Regions from separate parts of the Homo sapiens genome. Here region 1 is linked to region 2. The links are contacts of gene promoters, found by promoter capture Hi-C in human tissues and cell types (Jung and others, 2019). All regions are on one chromosome and are shown on one strand. The core of a region is centred on a gene start or on the middle of the fragment in contact, and the rest is flanking DNA. Distances in the headings are between cores, read along the strand shown. Region 1 overlaps UTP6 (UTP6 small subunit processome component). Region 2 holds the start of RHOT1 (ras homolog family member T1).

Region 1 (3,745 bases), core at 975-3,474, 260 kb after region 2:
GCTGATGCATGCTGAAAAACTGAGGAAGGAGAAGGAAGAATTTGAAAAAGCCAGTATGGATGTGGTAAGGTTCTAATTATTTTATTCTCACTTGCTAACGATGTATAACATTTTGAGCCTGCTTAGGAGTAAGAGAAAATATTTGGAATATATTTTTCTTTTTTTTTCTTTTTTTTTGAGACGGAGTCTCGGTCTGTCACACAGGCTGGAGTGCAGTGGCACCATCTTGGCTCACTGCAACCTCTGCCTCCGGGTTCAAGCTTTAATGTTTAATGTTGTTACATTTTGAAACTTCCAGATGAGTTAGTGTTACTTATAAATGGACTTAGTTAGGAAAATGAAGCTTTATGCTATAAAAATAGATATTTGGACTAATTAATGTGGTTCTCAAAATTGTTACTTACAGAATAGCCAAATACTATTCTTTAACGCTGTATGATCTCATAAAGTGATATATTAATGGATTCAAGGAGCTTGAGAAAGGTTGTGAAATGTGTGGTTTCCTGGCCTTCTTTCTTTCCCTTTTTATATAATTTTTTATATGACAGAATAATTAAAAGATTTAGAATGTTAGAGCTGAGAAGAAACTTTGCTATTGTCTGTTATTGTGGTTTCCAGCTTAGAACTTTTTTCTCAGACGGAGTGTTGCTCCTTGTCGCCCAGGCTGGAGTGCACTGGCACGATCTTGGCTCACTGCAACCTCCGCCTCCCGGGTTCAAGTGATTCTCCTGCCACAGCCTCCGAAGTAGCTGGGATTACAGGTGCCCGCCACCACTCCCGGCTAATTTTTGTATTTCTAGTAGAGATGGGGTTTTGCCATGTTGGCCAGGCTGGTCATGAACTCCTGATCTCAAGTGATCCGCCTGCCTCGGCTTCCCAAAGTGCTAGGATTATAGGCATGAGTCACCACGCCAGGCCAGGACTTTTTTATTCAAATAAAATGTTACAGAGAAGCGCAAACAAGACATGTAAAATCTGACCTGTTTTGGTCCAAATGGAGAGTGAGGCCTTAAGCCATGTGATCTTGCCACCACTCTTGGAGCCTCAGAGAACACAGTTGGAAGGTCAGTGATCTTGTTCAAGCTGCACACTTTACAAGTGAGGGAACTGGCCCGGAGAGAGAGACATGATTTACCAGTGGTCATATGGCACAGGTAGTCTAGGATTGTTAATTTTCGTCCTAGTGCTTTTCCTCCTTGTACTACCTGTTAAGTTACGTTTGATATAACACTCTTTAGGAGAATCCTGATTATTCTGAAGAAATCCTTAAGGGCGAGTTGGCATGGATCATCTACAAAAATTCTGTAAGCATAATTAAAGGTAGGTATCTTTTGAACATTATTTTTGGTAGGAAAGTGAAACATTCTTTTCTTAATGAAGATCTTTAGCTAGTTTTGAAATTTTCCATTAGAATGTGTATAAAACTCTGTAGGAATAGTGTCCTGTTTCTTTCAGAAAATACTTATTTTTCCTAGGCTATAATTGAACATTTCAGTAACTTATTTATTTTTTGAGATGGAGTCTTGATCTGTTGCCCAGGCTGGAGTGCATTGGCGTGATCTCGGCTCACCACAACCTCTGCTTCCTGGGTTCAAGTGATTCTCCTGCCTCAGCCTCCCAAGTAGCTGGGACTATAGGTGTGTGCCACCCTGCCCAGCTAATTTTTGTATTTTTAGTAGAGACGTAGTTTCACTATGTTGGCTAGGCTGGTCTCGTACTCCTGACCTTGTGACCTGCCCGCCTTGGCCTCCCAAAGTGTTGGGATTACAGGCGTGAGCCACCATGCCTGGCATAAGTCTCTTTTTAAAATTTATATTCTACTCCCATTTTTTTCCCTTAAATTTTAATAGGTTTGGGCCGGGTATGGTGGCTCATGCCTGTAATCCCAGCACTTTGGGAGGCCAAGGCAGGTGGATCACCTGAGGTCAGGAGTTTGCGACCAGCCTGGCCCACATGGTGAAACCCCATTTCTACTAAAAATACAAAAATTAGCTGGGTGTGGTGGTGGGCGCCTGTAATCCCAGCTACTTGGGAGGCCGAGGCAGGAGAATTGCTTGAACCCGGGAGGTGGAGGTTGCAGTGAGCTGAGAGCGCCTGGGCAACAGAGCGAGACTTCATCTCAAAAAAATAAAAATGTCAATAGGTTTTTGGGGAACAGGTTTAGTGGTGATGTCTGAGATTTTGGTGCACCCATCAACGAGCAGTGTATACTGTACCCAGCGTGTACTCATTTATCCTTCCATGTTTTTTTTTTGAGACAGGGTCTTACTCTGTCACCCACGCAGGAGTGCAGTGGTACAATTATGGCTCACTGTAGCCTCGACTTCATGGGCTCAGGTGATTCTCCCATTTCAGCCTCCTGAGTAGCTGGGCATGGACCTCTATGCCTGGCTAGTTTTTGTACTTGTAGTAGAGATGAGGTTTCACCATGTTGTCCGGGCTAGTCTTGAACTCCTGAGCTCAAGTGATCCTCCTGCCTTGGCCTCCCAAAGTGATGGCATAACTGGTGTGAGCCATTGCACCAATCCTCAGTAAGTTCTCATGGAGTAATTAAATCGTGGGGAGTTGAAAATTAGTTCTTTTTTTATGAATACTCCAAAGATTAACAATAGCTTTGCTTGAGTAGGGGGACACTGGGGTGAGGGGACTATGGGATGACTTTTCTTCTATTTTATTCTATTTCTCATTTCAAAAAACAAGAAGATTAACTCCAGTACATGAAAAGAATGCTACTTTTAAAGTAAAGTGATTCTTATTGGCAATAAACTTCCCCTCCCCTGCTTTTTAAATTTAGGTGCAGAATTTCACGTGTCACTGCTTTCGATTGCACAGCTATTTGACTTTGCCAAAGATCTACAAAAAGAGATTTATGATGAGTAAGTAAAGTTAGTAGAAAGGTGAATATATCTATTTCTGATCTTGAGATTAAGGGTTTGAGGTTGGATATTTAGTAGAAGAGAAAGAAGATACCACACTAAATCCCTGGAATAAAAGCTAATATTGGCCGGGTGCAGTGGCTCACACCTGTAATCCCAGCACTTTGGGAGACTGAGGTGGGTGGATCACCAGAGGTCAGGAGTTTGAGACCAGCTTGACCAACATGGTGAAACCCCGTCTCTACTAAAAATACAAAATTAGTTGGGCGTGGTAGTGCATGCCTGTAATCCCAGCTACTTGGGAGGCTGAGCCAGGAGACTCGCTTGAACCTGGGAGGCGGAGGTTGCAGTGAGCCAAGATCCCACAATTGCACTCCAGCCTGGGTGACAAGCAAAACTCCATCTCAAAAAAAAAAAAAAATTAATATCATATTACGTTAAAAAAAAATTTCCTGGCCCAGTGTAGTAGCTCACACTTTGGGATCCCAGTACTTTGGGAGGCCAAGGCAGGTGGATCCCTTGAGCTCAGGGGTTTGAGACCACCCTAGGCAACACGGTGAAACCCTGTCTCTACAAAAAATAAGCTAGGTGTGGTGGTGCATGCCTGTGGTCCTACCTACTCTGGAGGCTGAGGTGGGAAGATCACCTGAGTCTGGGAGGTTGAGGCTGGAGTGAACTGTGATCCTGCCACTCCACTCCTGTCTGGGTCACAGAGTGAGACCGTGTCTCAGAAAAAAAGTATCTTCCTGATTGAGTTCTTTGATTCACTTACTGGGGGAAATAGTTTATTCAATAAAAAAAAAAAATCTAGCCAGGCACGGTGGCTTAAGCCTGTAATCCCGGCACTTTGGGAGGCCGAGATGCATGGA
Region 2 (3,606 bases), core at 877-3,376:
GATCCTCCTGCCTCAGCCTCCCAGAGTGCTTGGAATACAGGTATAAGCCACCTCACCCAGCTGTGTGGGAGCATTATTAAAGGTTTTTTTTCAGACAGAGTCTTGCTCTGCTGCCCAGGCTGGCATGTCTCAGCTCACTGCAACCTCCTCCTCCAGGGTTCAAGTGATTCTCCTGCTTCAGCCTCCAGAGTAGCTGGGACTACAGGTGTGTGCCACCACACCCGGCTAATTTTCGTATTTTTAGTAGAGACGGGGTTTCACCATGTTGGCCAGGCTCGTCTCGAACTCCTGACCTCAAGTGATCTGCCTGCCTTGGCCTCCCAAAGTGCTGGGATTACAGGCATGAGCCACAGTGCCTGTAATCCCAGGCACTGCACTCCAGCCTCGGTGACAGAGCGAGACTCTGTCTCAAAACAACAACAACAACAAACTATTTCATCATATATTTAAGGATCAGTTTTTTAAGCAAGTCGTCTACTCACTTTCCCTACCTTGCTCCAAAAGCATAAGCATGAATTATATGTTAAATAACACCTTCCTGAACCTTGTCAAGGAAGTCCATGAAAAATACAGATTAAGATATAGTTATAAATAAAAATAAAAATTTACAACTGCAAATCAAAAAGTAAACTATGGCTGGCTAAGCTTACTCCTAAATTCTAATTCTAAAGGAAGATTTCTCCAAACAGCAGGTGGATGAAATTTCAATGAACTCAAAGAACACTACAGAAGAGGGTAAAAACGTGTTAACTTTCTTCCTTGGGATTCCATCACGGTGACCCTGAGGGGTTACCAAGAATGAAATAATGGTTTAAAACAGAATGCTTCGAAACAGCAATGGCAGACTATTAACGAATGTATTAACTCTTTAAAACAAACAATCCAGTTATCCCTGGCCCACTTTCTTATTTTAGTCCTAGCAACTGAGTTACATAACTTGCAGAGTGAAATCAAGAAGTCCCCGCTGTTGCGTCCTCATGTCAGTGAACAGAGGGAACTCTCCTTTATTATATTTTCAAAAGGTGAAATGTATGAAATTTCTGGGTGGGGGGAGATATCAAATGTCTGTGTGCCTGTGGTTATTAATAAGTTAACTACGAAGTAACTATGGAATAAATAATGCTTAAAAAGAGGGCAAAGATTACGCTTTAGGGTAACAACAATTGGACCCTCCCCAGATAATTCTAATTCATTGAGCGCTTGCATAACTCGAAGTTGAGTAAAAATTTTTGATGAAATATCTCGAGTACGAGGAGTTAGTCCAATGCAAAGTACAAGTACTGCTAAAAAGGATCCGGCCCTTTCCACTACTCATATCTTAATGTCAATACATAGAGAGAGTGAAGACTGCGAGTGCCAAAAAAATGCAGAAACCTGACCTTGCCCACAAGTCGAATAGTTCTGCACCCCTCCCCCAGCTTCCCCGGGAGCCGGTTCACGCAATCCCTATTGGTCAGTCTGCTTATTCCAGCACCTGCCTGGCAGTGATAAGGGAATCTCCAGAAGACAAGAAGGTCTGAAAGGAGGCGGCCTGGGAAACTGTGAGGCCCAGAAGGACAGGGTTCGAAGAGGAAAAGGAGGAGAGAAGCTTCGGAGGGATGAGGTCGGGCGGTTAGGGCTAATAGGGACATGGCTTGGGAGGACGGCTGGGGAACAGGGAAAGGAGATCTCTGGAGGGCCCAGGTGAGGTGACAGGGTGAGGGCCGCCGGCGGCCAGCCAAAAGAGAAGAGTGAAGGGGCTGGAAGGCCTAGGAACGCGGAGAAAGGCGAGCGGAGCTGTGAGGCGCGAGAAGGGCCGGGGCTGCAAAGGTTGGGGCTGCAGGGGCGACAGGGGCGACAGGGGCTGCAGGGGCAGGGAGGGCAGGGACTCAGGGGCCGGCCAGAGGGTGCGGACTCACGTTCTCCCACCAGCAGGATCCGCACGTCTTTCTTCATGTCGGCGGCTCTCGGGGGCCGGCCTCCGCCCGCACGCACGGAGTGGACTCCTCTCACCAGGAGCACCCACCCCACGGCGCCACCTGCCAGCCTCTTCGGCCGCCGGGGCCCGCCGCGCCGCCCCCTCAGTTGCTTCCCCGCAAGAGAGCCGGGACAGCGCCAGCTCCGCCTCCTCCGGCCCAGCGGGCTGTGGCGGCGGCGGCGGCGGCGGCGGCGGCGGCGGCGGCGGCGGCGGCGGCGGGGACGACGGCACGCGGCGAGGGACACGCGCTTTCGGAACGCGAACGCGCTCTGCGCCGGAACAGCGCTCCCGCTGTCAGGCCGCCGCAGCGCAGGCCCAGGGAGCCTCGCCCACCCTCCTTTGGGCACCGCGACCCCGGAGACACTTGGGCCAGGAATTTGAATGGCGGATTCCCTGGTTTAACCCCGTTTATTTTATAGATAGGGACAGAAATTCCCTGTTCAAAGTCACATAGCTAGAGCTTGGCAGTGACTCAGAGCAGGGATCTTCTCACCAGACCATAAACTCCGGGAGGGCAGCGATCAGCTTGCATGGTTTTCAGCTGCGTCCCCACGTTATTGGATAGGGCCGTCAGAAAATGCTTGATCGAGTAGGGCGACTGGCTCCCAGGATCCGGCGCTTTCCACTCCCCAAAGCCCGTCACCCTAGTTGCTTTTGCCTCTGATGCTTATAAAATACGATTATAAGATTCGTTTTTACGCTGTGTGAACAAGACTCCTTTCTTTATAACCAAACTAAGTGACTTTTTTTCTGTCTATGTAGTTTATTTTATGGCAGGGTTTTCGGACACTCTTCTTTACTCAGGCTTACCCAGCGTAATGCTAGACACGGAGGTGGCACTCGATAATAAACTCTAGATGATTTTTCTAACATTGCCTTAATTTTCTCGTGACCCTCTCCATCTGGAGGAATTTGTTGTTACATGCTTAATGTTTGGTACACAATGGCAAATATATATATATACATACGCGTGCGAATATATATCACATCCCTAATACTTGGCACACAGTGGGAAATATAAAATACATAAATTAATGAGGAAGCACTATCTGTGCATAATGTACATTTTTTCTATCTTAAATATTACACAATAAACACTTAAAGGGAATGAAATGTGCGTAATACCAACTTCCCTTTCTCCTAGGAGAAGTCATGTGGTCTCTTGCAGCAGTTAAGAGTTGCTGGCAAATTTCCTGGGTTTGAATCTAGGCTCCACATAATAGCTCTGTGATCTCGACTAAGTGCTTTTATTTTTACTTCCCTCAGCCACTGTTCCTTCTTCTGTAGCATGGAAATAATGATGATAATACCTTCCTCTTGAGATGGTTGTGAGTAATAAATACTATAATACTTGTCAAGCATTTGGTACAGTGCCAGACTCAGAGCGTGTGCTCTACTGATCTCAGCTATCATTATTATATTAAAAAGTCACTAAAAAGTTGTAATCCACAGATTTTTTGTTTTGTTTTGGTTTTGTTTTGAGACGGAGTCTCGCTCTGTCGCCCAGGCTGGAGTGCAGTGGCGCAATCTCGGCTCACTGCAAGCTCCGCCTCCTGGGTTCACGCCATTCTCCTGCCTCAGCCTCCCGAGTAGCTGGGACTACAGGCGTCCGCCACCACGCCCGGCTAATTTTTTTTTTTTTTTTTTTG

The links. Contacts are between HindIII fragments. The study calls those that stand out against the background at their distance.
Region 1: a fragment that was not itself captured here is called in contact with the fragment with the promoter of RHOT1 in region 2 in 1 of the 25 tissues and cell types used here (lymphoblastoid cells).

What each region holds. Positions count from the first base shown.
Region 1 is chr17:31,883,555-31,887,299 of GRCh38, reverse strand. UTP6 (UTP6 small subunit processome component) reads left to right here. Exons shown (of 19, transcript NM_018428.3): 8 at 1-64; 9 at 1,239-1,320; 10 at 2,795-2,876. Among named protein-coding and RNA genes, the nearest start is that of UTP6, 16 kb to the left of the region's middle. The HindIII fragment of the contact is 3,843 bases long and covers 303-3,745 here.
Region 2 is chr17:32,141,022-32,144,627 of GRCh38, reverse strand. It overlaps RHOT1 (ras homolog family member T1), which reads right to left and starts at 2,126. Exons shown (of 20, transcript NM_001033566.3): 1 at 1,899-2,126. The coding sequence starts at 1,935. LOC105371730 (a long non-coding RNA gene) reads left to right here and starts at 1,493. Exons shown (of 2, transcript NR_136413.1): 1 at 1,493-1,603; 2 at 1,915-3,402. RefSeq lists silencers at 1,846-1,905, 1,936-2,165 and an enhancer at 2,626-2,795. The HindIII fragment of the contact is 2,047 bases long and covers 1,118-3,164 here.